Linked DNA regions of Homo sapiens: region 1 is linked to region 2. Evidence: promoter capture Hi-C in 16 types of primary human blood cells and fetal thymus (Javierre and others, 2016). All regions are on one chromosome and are shown on one strand. Each heading gives the region's core, a stretch centred on a gene start or on the middle of the fragment in contact. The rest is flanking DNA. Distances are from core to core; before and after follow the strand shown.

Region 1 (4,225 bases), core at 1,302-3,801, 150 kb after region 2:
TGGCAAAAATCTAAAAGTTTGGTAACCTACTTTATTTGTGAAGTGTTTTTTGTTTGTTTTTTGTTTTTTTGAGATGGAGTCTCGCTCTGTCACCCAGGCTGGAGTGCAGTGGCACGATCTTGGCTCATTGCAAGCTCCACCTCCTGGGTTCATGTCATTCGCCTGCCTCAGCCTCCCCAGTAGCTGGGATTACAGGCGCCTGCCACTACACCCAGCTAATTTTTGTATTTTCAGTAGAGACAGGGTTTCACCATCTTGGCCAGGCTGGTTTTGAACTCCTGACCTTGTGATCCACCTGCCTCGGCCTCCCAAAGTGCTGGGATTATAGGTGTGAGCCACTGTGCCCGGCCTATTTGTGAAGTCATTAAAAAAAACTATTCTCATACATTGCTAGTGGGACTGTAAATTGGTAAAGCTTCCATCAAAATTACAAATACATATACCTCTAACTCAGCAGTGCACTTTTGGAATGTCACCCTGATACACATCTGTATATATGTGAAATGACATATATGTCCCAAATTATTGAATACAGCATTTTAATACCTAAAGACAGAAAACAATCCACATGAGTATCAATAAGGGCTTGCTTAAAGATCTTTTGTATATTATAAAGTGAAATTCTATGTAGGTACAAAAAGAATGAGAAAATTCTGTGAAATAAAGTTGAAATCTTTCCAAGATGTATCATATTCCATTAAATCTAAAATGTACTTTTCTCACATTTGAACATCTCTGAAATTATGCCGTATCTTATAATTAGTAACTTACAATTATAATTGGCAGCATTTTTCCTTTCTTAGAAGTACTTAGAGCCGGGTGTGGTGGCTCACACCTGTAATCCCAGCACTTTGGGAGGCCAAGGTGGGCGGATCACCTGAGGTCAGGAGTTCAAGACCAACTTGGCCAACATGGCAAAACCCCATCTCTATTAAAAATACAAAAAATTAGCCAGGCATCATGATGGGTGCCTGTAATCCCAGCTACTCGGGAAGCTGAGGCAGGAGAATCACTTGAACCCAGGAGGCGGAGGTTGCAGTGAGCCGAGATCTCGCCATTGCACTCCAGCCTGGGCAACAAGAGTGAAACTCCGTTTAAAAAAAAAAAAAGGAGAAGAAGTACTCAAAAATAATAGTTACATTCCATTGGATTTTGAAATCAATGAATTATGACATCATCAGTTGAGAACACTAAATGCAGAACCACATGGAGCACATGCTATCTCTCAATTCAAAGAGAATCTGTTTAATGCAATGTAGTGTCCTGGACTGTATCCTGAACAGAACAAAGATACTAATGAAAAACCTGGGGAAATCCAAATAAAATCTGAAGTTTAGTTAATAATTCACAATGATGTTAGCTTCTTAGTGGTGATAAACATGCTACGGCAACATAAGATGCTTTCATTTCAGGAAACCGGGTGAGCTCTCTGTATTATTTCTGTAACTTTTCTTTTGTTTTCTTTTTTTTTTGAGACGGATTCTCACTTTGTCACCAGGCTGGAGTGCAGTGGCGCAGCTCACTGCAACTTCCACCTCCCAGGTTCAAGCGATTCTCCTGCCTCACCCTCCCAAGTAGCTGGGACTACAGGCGCATGCCACCACACCCAACTAATTTTTGTATTTTCAGTAGAAACGGGGTTTCACCACGTTGGCCAGGATGCTCTCAATCTCTTGACCTCGTGATCCATCCACCTTGGCATCCCAAAGTGCTGGGATTACAGGCATGAGCCACCATACCTGGCCGTTATTTCTAAATGTAACTTTTCTATAAATCCAATTTTATTCCAAAATAAAAAGGGTAAAATAATAACTTTTTAAAGAATCTTGGCTGAGCATGATGGCTCTCGCCTGTAATCCCAGCACTTTGGTAGGCCGAGGTGGGAGAATCACTTGAGGCCAGAAGTTTGAGACCAGCCTGCACAACATAACAAGAGCCCATCTCTACCAAAAAAATTATATATATATATATATTTTATGCAAATACATTTTTTAAAAAAATTCTGGAGGGAAATGAGAAATTAAAATCTGTGAGGGATAGCAGGGGTAAGAAGAACTGGACAGATGAGGGCAAGGAGGGGCTGATGAGAGGCTCTTCACTTTATACTTATTCTCAGAACCATGTGAATTTATTTACCTACCAAAATATCAAGTGTAAAAAGTTATTACACTTTTGTGAGGGAGATTAATGGGATAAGGAGAGAGTATTCTAAATAGAGCTTGTGGTTTTTTTTTTTGAGATGGGGTCTAACTCTGTTGCCCAGGCTGGAGTGCAATGGTGCGATCTTGGCTCACTGCAACCTCCACCTCCTGAGTTCGAGCGATTCTCCGGCCTCAGCCTCCTGAGCAGCTGGGATAACAGGTGTGCGCCACCAAGCCCGGCTAATTTTTGTATTTTTAGTAGAGACAGAGTTTTACCATATTGGCCAGGCTGGTCTCAAACTCCTGACCTCAAGTGATCCACCTGCCTCAGCTTCCCAAAGTGCTGGGATTACAGGTGTGAGCCACCGCACCCGGCCTAGCGTTTGTGTTTATAACCTATAAACTATAACAGCAATCCATGGCTTGGCTAGGGATGGTGTCCACAACTCCTAAAATTCTCTACCCAATGTTATGCAAATGAATTTATGTACATTTTTCTCAGTAGAGGATACATAAGGAAACAGATTATTATGCAACCATATAATGGAACAGTATGCATCCACTAAAAAAAGATATCCATGTTTAGAAGTGTTTATGACAATAAAATATTCCACTACATTATATGAAATAGGAAGAAACTAATGATATGATAGTACTTGGAATATTTATCTTGTTGATGTGAAAGTATATGCGACATAGCAAGACTCCCTCTCAAAAAAAAAAGTGTATTTCTCTATAGACATATCTGTGTATCTAAACATGCTCTGAACAATCTAAAAACCTAACTGTGGGGCCAGGTGTGGTGGCTCACACCTGTAATCCCAGCACTTTGTGAGGCCAAGGCAGGCGGATCATGAGGTCAAGAGATTGAGACCATCCTGGCCAACATGGTGAAACTCCGTCTCTACTAAAAATAGAAAAATTAGTTGGGCATGGTGGTGTGCGCCTGTAGTCCCAGCTACTTGGGAGGCTGAGGCAGGAGAATTGCTTGAACCCGGGAGGCAGAGGTTGCAGTGAGCCAAGATTGCACCACTGCACTCCAGCCTGGTGACAGAAAGAGACTCCATCTCAAAAAAAAAACTTACAAAAGGGCCGGGCGTGGCACACCTGTAGTAAACCCAGCACTTTGGGAGGCCGAGGCGGCAGATCACTTGAGGTCAGGAGTTTGAGACCAGCCTGGGCAACATGGTGAAACCCCATCTACTAAAACTACAAAAATTAGCCGGGTGTGGTGGCAGGCGCCTGCAGTCCCAGCTACTCGGGAAGCTGAGGCAGGAGAATCACTTGAACCCAGGAGGTGGGGGTTTGCAGTGAGCTGAGGGCGCACCACTGCACTCCAGCCTGGGCGACAGAGCAAGACGCTGTCTCGAAAAAAAAAAAAAAAAAAAAATTGGGAGGCCGAGGTGGGCTGATCACAAGGTCAGGAGATCGAGACCATCCTGGCTAACACAGTGAAATCCCATCTCCACTAAAAATACAAAAAATTAGCTGGGCATGGTGGTGGGTGCCTGTAACCCCAGCTACTCAGGAGGCTGAGGCAGGAGAATGGCGTGAACCCAGGAGGCGGAGCTTTCAGTGAGCCAGGATCGCGCCACTGCACTCCAGCCTGGACGACAGAGCGAGACTCAGTCTCAAAAACAAAAACAAAAACAAAAACAAAACAAAACAAAAACTAACTGTGGTAGTCATTAGTGCTGTTCACCAAATATTTCTGGCCTGTTGGATGGAACCATTTGATTACTTCTGGCCTGTGAGCTATGAGTGGAAAAAGGCATCTAAATGTTAATTCCAGACCTTCCACAGCTCTTTTCCCTCTGCACAGGGACCAGCAATACTGAGAAGATGCTGCTCATCAGCCCATGTCCCCAAGCAGTCACAACAAGCACAGTTCCCTGCTGAAGCACAGCACCTCTGCAAAAAAGAATTACGTCTGTATTTTCAGCTGCTGAGATTTGGGGGTCTTATTTTTTATTACCACATATGTTAGTCCGTTTTCACGCTGCTGATAAGGACATCCCCGAAACTGGGCAATTTACAAAAGAGGTTTAACAGACTCAGAGTTCCACGTGGCTGGGAAGGCCTCA
Region 2 (4,328 bases), core at 1,418-3,917:
TAAGAACTTACAGTGGCTGGTTATGCTGTAAGGAAGATAAGAAGAAAACAGGGGAGCAGGCTAACTCCAGATGCCCAGTGGGAAGACGACAGGCCCTTCTCTCACATGATCATGATTCCTTGGTGTTGTGGTTTGGTGATGAGCAGTTTAAAGATACCAAAGATAACTTTAGCTTGAAGCAGTGCTTCTCAAAGTGTGGTCTCTGTTGCATGTAGTGATTCTGGTTCATTGAGATAAATTTACTATTTTTACTCTGGTTCATTAAGATAAATTTACTATTTTTACAAAAAATTTACTATTTTTACTAAATTTTACACAAAATTTACTATTTTTACAATTTTAAAGTGTACAACTCAGTGACATTTACTAAATTTACAATTTTGTGCAACCATCTCCACTATCTCGTTCCAGAACATTTCATCACCCCACAGGAAACTCCCATGCCCATTAAGCAGTTACTTTCCAACACTCCCAACCCCCACACCTGGTGACCACCAATCTGCTTTCTGTCTCTATAGATTCTGGACATTTCATATAAATGGAATCATACAACGTGTGGCCCTTTTTGTCCGTCTTTCACTTAGCACAATGTTTTCAAGTTTCATCCCTGTTGTAACAAGTATCAATACTTCCTTTTTGACCAAATAATATTTTTTGTACCACATTTTATTTATCCATTCATCGGGTGACATGTATATTATTTGTTTCTGTCTTTTGGCTATTGTGAATAGTGCTGCTATGAATACTCATGTACAAGTTTTGGTTTGAACACTTGCTTTTAATTCTTTTGGGTAGAAAGCGTAGGCATTAATCTTTGCTCACTCAAAAGGAGATGACCAAATATCTTAAATTCTTCAATCATTCAACAAATATTTACTGAAAACCTACTCTATAGCTGCTTAGAACGCCAAGCACTGGGAATACATACTGCAGTGAATAAGACAGGCATCATCCCTGTCCTCCTTGGGAATAACACAAAATTCAATAAGTGAGTAACACACAGACTTTACAGCATTTAGGATTAGGAATTCCTTTGCTATTAAGGAAAGTAAAAGCTGGTCACAGAGCACCTGGCAAGATGCTCTAACTGGATGCTTTCGGATGAAACAAGCAAACACAACTAAGCGCAATCACATCTGTCACCTTACATCATAAGCCTCAAGTAGGGAGGTTCCCAAGTGGGTCCAGTCGGCAGCTCAACCTCATCAAGGATCTAGCCTTTCTCTATCCTGCTCTGCCATCCTCATGGCCACGCTAAGGAACAGCCACCCGAGGCATCATGTCTTCTCATGGAACAAAGACCAGGGAACAGAAGGGGGGGAGATCCCTTCTCAATCCCTTGTTAGGTGCAAGAAAAACTTTCCCAGAATACTTCTCAGATCTGTTCTGCCCGATTTGCCCCACAGCCTATTCCTAAGCCAATTACTGGCAAGGAATTGGAATCAGGTGCAATGAATAATGTATGATTAATCAAGTTTGAGGCTGGAAGGGGCCCTCTTCCCCTGGGGAATATGATGCCTGAACAAAATACAGGCTCTGGAAAAATGTAAGAGGGAAAGAACGGCTGTAGGATAGGCAGCCAAGCGTGTCTCCACCGCTGCCTATGCAAAGATTTCCTGGAGGAAGTCCAGTCCGGCGTTCTCTAAGCTCCAGGCCTCAACTGAATATCTCAAAAGAAAACAAATATCCAAACCTCAACGTGTCCCAGACTGAATTAATGATTCCCGTTAAAGTAGTGTCTTCCAGTGGTAACTAATACTATCATTCAGATGCTGGAGCCAGGAAAATAAGAGTCACCGTATCTTCTTCTCCCTCATCACCACCTCTAGCGCATCACCAAGTCTTTGAATCCATCTACTCTCTTCGCCTCCACCGCCACCATCCTAATCCCAGTCACTATCAACTCTTCCCTGGAGCTTTGCAACAATCATGTTTGGCTTCCCAGCATCCATTTGTATTTCCCTCCAAACTATTAGTTCACAGTGCAGGTAGGGTGGCCTTTTCAAACCCAAATCTGCTCATGCTCAAAACTTGCTTCCCACTGCTCTTAGAATAGAGACCACTTTGAGCTTGAATAGGCTGTGCACATCCCACCTCAAGACTGCTGCACTTGCTGTTCCTCCTCCAACCCCTTGTCACCCCTCTCCCTCGGCTTAACTGTCATTTCCCAATTAGGTCAGATCCCTTTGCTGCAGCCCGTAGAGAGCTCTGCGCCTGTCCTTCAGGGCACTTTTTCTCCATCTACAGACTCAGATCTGTGACAACACGGAGCTAGTATTTCCTACAACATAATGCCTGGCACACGGTAAGTGCGCAATATGTAGCTGTTGCACGGCTAAATGTATACATAAGCTTCAAAGCAGAGTGGCCCATAGCAAATACGGTCGCAGTCCCGGGAGAAAGCACACACAGCCGAGACCCCACCGCTTCGTCGGCGCCGCCTGGACCAGCCAGTAGCTCCGCCCCTGGGCCCCGCCCCTCCCTGCTGAGCGAACGGGGCGGGGCCCAGAGGTCGCGTGACGTGACAGCAGCCGGTCGGTGATTGGGTCTCCAGGCGCGCCGTGTCGGAAAGGGGGCGCACCCGCGCGCGCTGACTGGCTGTCTGGCGCAGCGGGGCGGACGGCGGCGGCGCCGCGGGGGCGGGCGCCGGTAGGGGCCGGACAGGGTAGGGCCCGGAGGGCGGTGGCGGCGGAGCGGGCGGCATGGGTCCTGGCCGCCGGCTTCGCTGAGACGCGCTCGCGTGGGCTGCCCTCCCGGGCCCGCAGTGGTCGCGGCGGCATGAAGGGCGCTCTGGGGAGTCCCGTGGCTGCCGCTGGCGCCGCGATGCAGGAGAGTTTCGGCTGCGTGGTGGCCAACCGCTTCCATCAGCTGCTGGACGACGAGTCGGACCCGTTCGACATCCTGCGCGAGGCCGAGCGCCGGCGCCAGCAGCAGCTGCAGCGCAAGAGGCGCGACGAGGCGGCGGCGGCGGCCGGGGCCGGTCCCCGCGGCGGCAGGAGCCCAGCCGGGGCCTCGGGCCACAGAGCCGGCGCGGGCGGCCGGAGGGAGTCGCAGAAGGAGCGCAAGAGCCTCCCGGCGCCCGTCGCTCAGCGGCCCGATAGCCCCGGGGGCGGCCTGCAGGCGCCGGGTACGCGGGGACAGCGGGGTTAGCGGACCACGGCTCGGCCCGCTGTGAGACTGGGGTCCCGGGGGCCGGTTTCAGGAGGAGGGGCCCGGGAACAGTAGGGAGAGTTGAGGGTCCTGGTGGCCGCCGAAGGTAGGAGGAGAGGGGCAGGGGTCACACCCCTTCCAGCTCTCGCCAGCCTCGTGCGGGGCTCCGGGGGAAACGCTGGCTTGGGGTGGGATAGGGCCCTCGAACCCTGGCACTGAGGCTCTACGGCAAGTTGGACGAAGTTGAGGGAGGTTGTCTGGGTGGCGTGTGGGGGCGAACGGCTGAGGTCGCTACCCCGGGGCTCCCACATCCAGACCTGGCGGGGACCTTCATCTTCCAGCCCAGCCTCTGCAAGATTGAGGTCGGAGCCACCCGAGAGCGCGGTGGGGAGGAGGAGGGCGCCTGGTCCCGGGGCTGGGGGCCTCTGTGATGCCGGAGGCCTGGGCGACCGCGGGGCGGCCTGTGACGTCGGGGCCCGGGCGGGGGTCCCCGGCGCGGTCCGGCCTGGCGCCTTCGCCCCTTCTCCGTCCGGTAGCTTCCAGGAGGCAGCCGGCATCGTATTTCAGTACTTCGTGTGGTGTTGATGGGATGTGCAACTTATAAATAGCTCAAGGCTGCTTTAAGAAAAGCGTTTTTAACCTTTCCAGCAAGAATATTCGGAGTTCCCCACTCCCTATTTAGCAAGAAAAACCGGTGCGCAGCGTGGTGTCCTGCTGCCTGTGGACGGGGAGGGTGCTTCAGAGTTCATTCTCTCACCGAACTGCGTCAGTGGCAGAGCCAGCAACACTCCACCTGTGTTTCCTGTTTTCTTGAAATGAGGCAGCGGTCCCAAGGTTTGCAGAGTGTTAGGATTAAGATGTGTAGGTTGACCATTCCTGCCGACGTTTGCCAGTGTGTTCAACTTGGCTTTATTGGTTTGTTCCTTGCTTGATAAAAATTGTGCATCGCAGCCCTGAGGAAACGTCTCAGGTTTAAGTATTAGGGCTTTGATGTGCAGCTGGGTAATGTTTACCTTTATTTGTGAAAAGCTAAATCCAGAGTCATCACTTGAGAATCAAGTCACTACAATAAAGATGTTGAAAATGATTTTTAAAAAAATGTTATTTACTATCTCACGACACTTTGGTAGGCCAGTAAATTTCTGAGCCTATCTAAACAGTGAGACTGGAGATACATT

The links. The method cuts DNA at HindIII sites, captures the fragments that hold promoters and counts their contacts. A CHiCAGO score of 5 or more calls a contact.
Region 1: a contact is called between a fragment that was not itself captured here and the fragment with the promoter of HABP4 in region 2, in 1 of 17 cell types (megakaryocytes). The highest score is 5.8, in megakaryocytes.

Annotation. Positions count from the first base shown.
Region 1 is chr9:96,598,285-96,602,509 of GRCh38, forward strand. All of the region lies in intron 1 of CDC14B (cell division cycle 14B), which reads right to left. LOC105376163 (a long non-coding RNA gene) reads left to right here and starts at 1,333. Exons shown (of 4, transcript XR_001746853.2): 1 at 1,333-1,420. The HindIII fragment of the contact is 4,276 bases long and covers 414-4,225 here.
Region 2 is chr9:96,447,502-96,451,829 of GRCh38, forward strand. HABP4 (hyaluronan binding protein 4) reads left to right here and starts at 2,668. Exons shown (of 8, transcript NM_014282.4): 1 at 2,668-3,127. The coding sequence starts at 2,779. RefSeq lists an enhancer at 2,086-2,165 and silencers at 2,446-2,985, 2,996-3,055, 3,136-3,185. The HindIII fragment of the contact is 2,057 bases long and covers 2,351-4,328 here.